2 separate regions of the Homo sapiens genome follow, and region 2 is linked to region 1. Evidence: promoter capture Hi-C in 16 types of primary human blood cells and fetal thymus (Javierre and others, 2016). All regions are on one chromosome and are shown on one strand. The core of a region is centred on a gene start or on the middle of the fragment in contact, and the rest is flanking DNA. Distances in the headings are between cores, read along the strand shown.

Region 1 (3,549 bases), core at 344-2,843:
ACCTCCCCGCCAGGGAGATCTGCGGCTGCAGTCTCCCCGCCTGCCCACTTCCCTGTCCCCATTTCCCCCGCCAGTAACTCGCCGAAAGCGTTCTCAGGTTGGCGGTTTCTTCTTTCCAGCCCGACACGGGCTTTCGACTCGAATTCAGCCCTCCAGCCGGAGGCGGGTGGCCGCAAGCCTGGGGCCCCCGGCCGGCAACCGAATTGGTGGGCGCGGCGTTCGCCTCGCGGCTCCCGCGCACGGGCCTGTCCCGCCACCGAGGAGCCGGAGCTCCTCAGGGACGGGGACCCGCAGGCCCCGGGAAGCCGCCCCAACCGGAGCTGCCCGGCCCCCGAGCCTACCTGCCGCACCTGGGCGGCGGCCCGGCCTGGGTCCCAGCCGCTGGCCACCCGCGCGGGCAGGCCGGAGGGAACAAAGGCGTTCCGGGGAGGGGACGAGCCTCCTTCTCCGCCGCGCTTTCAGAGGGCGGGCTGCCGGGGCCCGCGGTGGGAGAGGCCTCCCCGGCTTCCCGACTTCCCGGCGCTGGGCCGTGCGCGGTCCGGGCCAGGGCGGCGGGCCCCGATCCGGTGTCCACGCCAGCCACGCGCCCCCGGCCCAAGCGCGCGTTCCCACCTGAAGTCCTGGCGCCACCCGCCGGGCGAGGGCCGGCGTGCCCTCACCTCCTCGCCACTCTTCTCCTCCAGAGACCTCGCTCGGCCCGGAGTGGGCAGACTCGGAGCCTCCCGCGCCGGAGACCGCGAGCCGCTCGGCCGAGGAGGCGCGGCGGGGCGGGGGCGGGGCGGAGGGGCCGGCCCGCAGCCCCCAATGCCGGGAGCCCGCGCTGGAGACCCAGGGAGCCCAGCTCGGGGCCGCGGCACGGAGAACGAACCATCCGTGGCCTGGAGACGTATCCCGCCGAGCGGCCAGAACTTTCCCCATTTAGCGATCCGGAAAGGAAGCCAACACTCCCACCCAGAGAGGCCTCGGCCGCGGAAAGATGCGGCCGCGGCACAGCCGTGTTTTCACCACGTAACTGACCACAGACTAACTCCGCGCGGAACCACCGGCCCAGGGCGCTCCGCCAAGAGGCGGACTGTGCTGGCCTCGCGGGCCCTACGCCCAGGGAACGCCGCGGTTCCTCCCACACGGGACACCGGTTCCGCAGCGCCGCGGATTAGGATGGTCTTTTACTTTCCGAGCGGGAGCTCTAACGCAGGCTCAGGCGGGTCTTGTTAAAAGGTTTCTGGTCACACCACTTATGCGTGGAGCTCTGGGGGCCTCAGTAACAAAGTAAGGAAACTTACAGCAAACTAGGGCTGCACTGCCGCTGTCCGTTTCTAAAATACGAGAAGAGGGGGAAACCCCGCCCCAGGCCAGCTTCCCAGTGACTTTACCTCCAAGTCCAGCTTCATTTCAAGGGCAGTTTAGAGCGAAACTCACGAAGTTCAAGCCCAGCTCTTTAAATGTCCAAATCGGAGGTCGGCTTTCCTTCCCGCATCGGAGCTAAAGTCGCTGGTCTCAAGAACAAAACTTGCGGGCTTTAAATCTTGGGCGAGGACTGGACGGGCAGCGCTGGACTGGGCTCGCTTCCCCGGCGGGATGCGGGCTGTATGCGGGCGGGATGGGGGCGGGCCCGGGCGGGGGCGCGAGGCTCCCAGCCGCGCGCCCCGCACTCTCGGCGTCACGGCCCGAGCCCGGCCCCGCCCGCCAGCCGCCACCCTCCCGGCGCGTAGGTGAAGGTGATGGGCCCCGCCCCAGTTTGTTCTTGTCTGTAGATGAGAATTCCAGGAAGTGTTTCCCTGCCGCTCGTCAGTTAATTGCGATCACTTACTCAAATGGCCAACTGGAAGCCAGAGTGCACATGAATGTCCTCTTTGAGCTATTTTCCTCCTTTAGAATACTTCATGCAGGTAACCAGACAATATCGAGAGATGCGGACTTCTACTCAACGAGAGAGATTATAAATGAATCCTGGATGCGCTTGATTTCTTGTTTCCCGCATGTTGTTAGACCTCTCCCTAAAGCCACAAAACATTTAACGGAGATAATATTTTGAGCGATTCTGTTATTGTACATATTTCAGAACATGACAGAAAAGCAAAAGATTAACCCAAATACTTTAGTAAAATAAAAGCTTTGAGTTTGTCGTAAAAGGAACAAGACAGGTAATGAGTTAAATGTATGATTGTCGAATCAGGGTTTAAAACAGTGGGGCCAGCAGACACGGTGGCTCACACCTGTAATCCCATCACTTTGGGAGGCTGAGCCGCAGGAGGATTGCTTGATCCCAGGAGTTAGAGACCAGCGTGGCCAACATAGCAAGACCCCATCTCTAAAAGAAAAAACACACACACAAAATGAAAACTGTTGTTCATTCAAACTAGATTTTTAGGAAGTTTTTAAATTGCTTTCCTTAAGCTGGTCAGCATCTTTTAAATCATGCAGTTCTTTTCATATGCTGCCTACACAGGGCATGGCTCAGCATCTCCCAGACTGTGGCACTGCATGTTCATCAGACCACAGACAGAAATATTTACATGTGTGATTTGCAAAGGAGTCATTGACAGTGACCCACAAATAAGCTGATTCATTGTTAATACAGCACTAATGACATACCTTCTCTAATAAAATGCTGACTGAAATCCCACATGCATTTCCCCCAGCCATCACATGTGTATGTTGTATATCTGTGCAAATATTCAATTACAATTATATTCCTTTCAGATCATTTGGAGCTAGGTCCATGTGTCAGTATACATATGTTCCACATACATGAGCACATAGAACTGTACCCACGAGAAATACAAACTGACCAAAACAGTGGTAGACACACATACAAATCACATATTCACATCATACTAGATACAGATAAACACACCAGATAGATAAATGGTTTCAAAAGTATGTCTGGAGATTGGAAATACGATGCAAGTTTTTTGGTGGTAGGAGGGAGAGATGAGAGGGTGTGAAGGAGAGATAGGCAAGGTCAAGTAGTCCAGAATGCCCACTCTGGGATCCACACAAGCTCAGATCACACATGCGAGAGGACAGGCAAGTCCCCTTTGCTTGTTAGGGAAGATTTCCTAGAGCAGCCTGGCTTCCTGTCCCACCCAGAGAGAGGGGAAGAGAATGACAGATTTGATGGTATTGATGGTGCTATGCTCAGTTACTTTTATCAAGAGGGAGTGCATGAAGATATTGAGATGTGTTAGAAATAAACTTAGGTAATAATAATGATGCTGACTTGGCCAGCATGAAGAAGGAGGACCGTGTTGGCATGCTTTCCTTATCCAAGTAGCAGCTGGTAAGCAGAGAGCCCTGTGATTAGATCTATACATGACTTTGGAATGACCAAAATCTGCATGTTAGACTCGGCAGGGATAGATAAGGCACAGAAAGAGCAGAGGAGTAGCAGATTTAGGAGAGATGATCAGAGAGTAAGGCACATGCATCATTAGTAGTGGGGAGGGGAGACTAAACCCTGAGTACAAGAGAACCTGGGAGATGGTGGGAGCAACAGGGGCCCAAGGAAGAGGCCTGTGTTACTAAAATCATGAAAGGAGAAGCAGG
Region 2 (3,549 bases), core at 309-2,808, 52 kb before region 1:
CATCCCTGTGGATCCTCTGTGGGTTTGTTCTAGATTCCCGGATAGAGTAGCATCACTCGCTTTCTCGCCACTTTCTTCCCTAGTAGGCACTCTCATCTCTCATCTGTTATACCAGCAGAGTCCTCGGGGGGAAATAAACTTATTTCAATAAAGATTTCTGATTGCAACTTCTAAGCTGAAACTTGACGATCCAGCCTTCTGGAATTTTCAGCATCTGAAAGATCCCAGATGGGCTTGTGATCAGAAGATTTTAGCCATTTTTTCCCTCACTCTTTCTTTTTTACTTTGGAGATTTTGATGACTATTTATCCTGAGTGGGAGGTATATAAACTAAAAAAATAAGCTTCAATTTGGAGGTTTCACCATAAATTTCTTTGCAGGCACCAGGAGGATTTCATAGCACATGTGTAGAGGCCAGGTGGGCTGGAAGGTGACAAGAACACAGGCTTTGGAAGTCGGATAGGGATGGATTCAAATCTTGGCTCTAACAAGTACCAGCTGTATGACCCTAGTCACGTTTCGTAGCCTTTCTGAATATGGTCCCCCTCATCTGTAAAGCAGAGGTAATAATTCCTGCCTCACAGAGACCTTGTGAAGATTAAATGAGTTAGATGTGTGGTAGGGACTTCATGTGGTCAGCTTGCAATATGGTTGGTGGTCAGTAGTCAGTGGTCAGAAACTATTGTTGTCCTTTCAATTCTGTAATAGTGACCTTCCAGCCATGTGGTGGCTGAATCCGGGTTGCTCCTTAGTTGCCCTTTTTTTTGAGACGGAGTTTCACTCTTGCCGCCCAGGCTGGAGTGCAGTGGCACAATCTCAGCTCACTGCAACCTCCGCCTCCTGGGTTCAAGCGATTCTTCTGTCTCAGCCTCCCAAGTAGCTGGGACTACAGGTACCCTCCACCACACCCGGCTAATTTTTGTATTTTTAGTAGAGATGGGGTTTCACCATGTTGGTCAGGCTGGTCTCTAACTCCTGACCTTGTGATCCGCCGGCCTTGGCTTCCCAAAGTGCTGGGATTACAGGCGTGACCCACTGCGCCCGGCCTCCTCAGTTGCCTTTATGGGCGTTTCTCCCTAGACCCATTTGGACCTGTTACACACATCTTCCCTCTAACATCTCAAATGTCTTCTGGAAAATTCTGAAGGGTGAAATACTGTATGCTGAGGGAAGGGCAGGCTCTGATCACCACAGGGTGATTTGGAAGTATCCTGTGGTGAATTTCCCTGGACCCAGAAAATTCTGCCCTGTTCTTAATAAATTAGGCAGCTGGACTTAAAAAAAAAAAAAGTGTCAACAGAGACTTTCATGCCAAGTCTCATGTTTCTATATTTGACTAAAGTCAGACAAGTTCGAGCAACCAAATGAGGTCTCTAAGTTTAGGCAGAACAAGTGCAGCCATTTTTCTCTGTGTATGTTGGTCTGAGCCAGATCCTGGAGCAAGACTGCCTGGGTTTGAAGCCTGGCTCTTCTCTTTCCTACCTGGGTCACCTTGGGCCATTGTGCTCCACTTCCCTTTGGTAAAACAGTACCTGTATCAAAGGGTTTGTTGTGAAGAGTTAAGGAAATAAGCAAATGTAAAGCATTCAGAACAGTGCCTGGCATCTGTTAAGCTCTCAGTAGATGTTAGCTGTTGTTATTAACATTACAGAGGTAGAGGGATAAATTCTGGGCTATGGAACATGTGCTAGGTTCAGTCTGCGGTAGCTGAGCAGTGCTAGGAAAGGTCTGTCATTCATTCGACATCTATTCTGCAAATATTTATTCATCTCCTACCATGCCAGGTACTGTTTAAGTTCTGAGGACACAGCAGTGAACCAAAGAGTCAAAAATCACTGCCCAGACCAGGCGCGGTGGCTCACGCCTGTAATCCTAGCACTTTGGGAGGCCGAGGCGGGTGAATTGCCTGAGCTCAGGAGTTCGAGACCAGCCTGGGCAACATGGTGAAACCCCATCTCTGCTAAAAATTAAAAAAAAAAAAAATTAGCCAGGCATAGTGGTGGGCGCCTATAGTCCCAGCTACTCGGGAGGCTGAGGGAGGAGAATCGCTTGAACCCCGGAGGCAGAATTTTCAGTGAGCCTAGATCAAGCCACTGCACTCCAGCCTAGCTACAGAGCAAGATTCCATCTCAAAAAAAAAAAAAAAAAAAAAATCACTGCCCAGGGAATGAGTATTCCAGTCATCTTGTAGGGGTGGTAACCAGTGCACCTGGGCCTTTGCTGTTTAGAACAAGTGTTCTGGGTATTTTTGCCTCAGTCCTTTTAACTAGCCACTACTTGATTTGTGTCACTTGTTTCTATACCAGTACTCCTCTTTGTTTTGTGCAGCATTTATTTGTAAGTACCTAAGATGCAGCATGCACTGTTTTCAGTTGAATAAGAGCTGGTTCTGGACCATAGGTGTCTGTGGCATAGCGCAGGCAGCAGATAAGTGGTCACAACATAATGAAGCAGGTGCTCTGATCAAGAGAAGCACAGAGAAAGTTTTCTGGAGAAGGTGAAGTCTGAAATATGATTTAGATCGAGTTGGCCCCAGAGGAGTATGGGTGAGGGGGAGTAGGGAAGGATGGGCTTTCTAGGCAGACAGCAGGTGGAGAAGGGATGGAGGCCTGAAGCTGCCTGAATATTTGGGGAACAATAAGTGGATAATTAGTATGGTTGCAGCAGAGAATGGAGTTGAGGAAGTGGAAGAGGACTTGGTAAGTCAGGCACACCCAGGTATGAGCTAGATAATGAAATTCCCCGTGTGCATTGCTCAAGAGTTTAAGCTTGCTCCTGAAGACCCTGGGCGCCCAGGAAAGGGCTTGAAGCTTGGGAGTGATGTAGACACAATAAGATATGTTGGAATTGCTCCTTTGTCAGCAGTCTGGAGCATGATTTGAAGGAGAGCCTGAAGAAAAGCAGGGAGACCAGTTGTCCCCATGAGAAGCCATGAGGCCTGAGCAGACAGTGACAAGGAGGTGGCAGAGATGGGGTCAGAATTTGAAAGGCATTAAGAAGGCGACGGTCCCTGCGGGGCTTCGTGAATGACTGGGAGGGTAAGAGGAAAGGGGTTTGGAAATTGTTGAAACCATAAACCAGTGCAAGTTAAGAGAGGGGCAAGATGTACGCACCTGGAGTTACCGTGACTCCTTGTGTTACTGTAAACAGCTAAAGCAGTGCAGTGATGCACTGGATGCTTAGTGTGGCTGGCAAGGGGGCTCATGGGCTCTCTGCTCCTGGAGACCTTTTGGAATGTGGCAGTCATCTGTGCTGATTGCTTCACAGAGTTCCAGCCAAGCAGGTCACCGCATCATGTAGCTCATTGGCTCATTCATTTATTTTGTTGATCAAATATTTATTGCATGCCTACTAAATGCTCTCATGGAACTTACATTTTGGTGGGAGTGAGTGGAGGAGGGAGGAATTCTTTTTTTTTTTTGGAGACAGAGTCTCATTCTGTTGCCCAGGCTGGAGTGCAGTGGCACAATCTCAGCTTACTGCAACCTCCGCCTCCCAGGTTCAAGCTATTCTCCTGCCTCAGCCTCCCGAGTAGCTGGGACTACAGGT

Evidence for each region. Contacts are between HindIII fragments. The CHiCAGO score rates a contact against its expected background, and 5 or more counts as called.
Region 2: a fragment that was not itself captured here is called in contact with the fragment with the promoter of B3GNT5 in region 1 in 3 of 17 cell types (M2 macrophages, M1 macrophages and monocytes); the score reaches 7.6 in M2 macrophages.

What each region holds. Positions count from the first base shown.
Region 1 is chr3:183,251,297-183,254,845 of GRCh38, reverse strand. It overlaps B3GNT5 (UDP-GlcNAc:betaGal beta-1,3-N-acetylglucosaminyltransferase 5), which reads right to left and starts at 1,593. Exons shown (of 2, transcript NM_032047.5): 1 at 1,374-1,593. The region is part of intron 15 of MCF2L2 (MCF.2 cell line derived transforming sequence-like 2); the gene reads left to right. LOC124906310 (a long non-coding RNA gene) reads right to left here. Exons shown (of 3, transcript XR_007096189.1): 3 at 2,291-2,311. The HindIII fragment of the contact is 12,746 bases long and covers 1-2,115 here.
Region 2 is chr3:183,303,067-183,306,615 of GRCh38, reverse strand. The region is part of intron 10 of MCF2L2 (MCF.2 cell line derived transforming sequence-like 2); the gene reads left to right. Among named protein-coding and RNA genes, the nearest start is that of B3GNT5, 52 kb to the right of the region's middle. The HindIII fragment of the contact is 2,425 bases long and covers 346-2,770 here.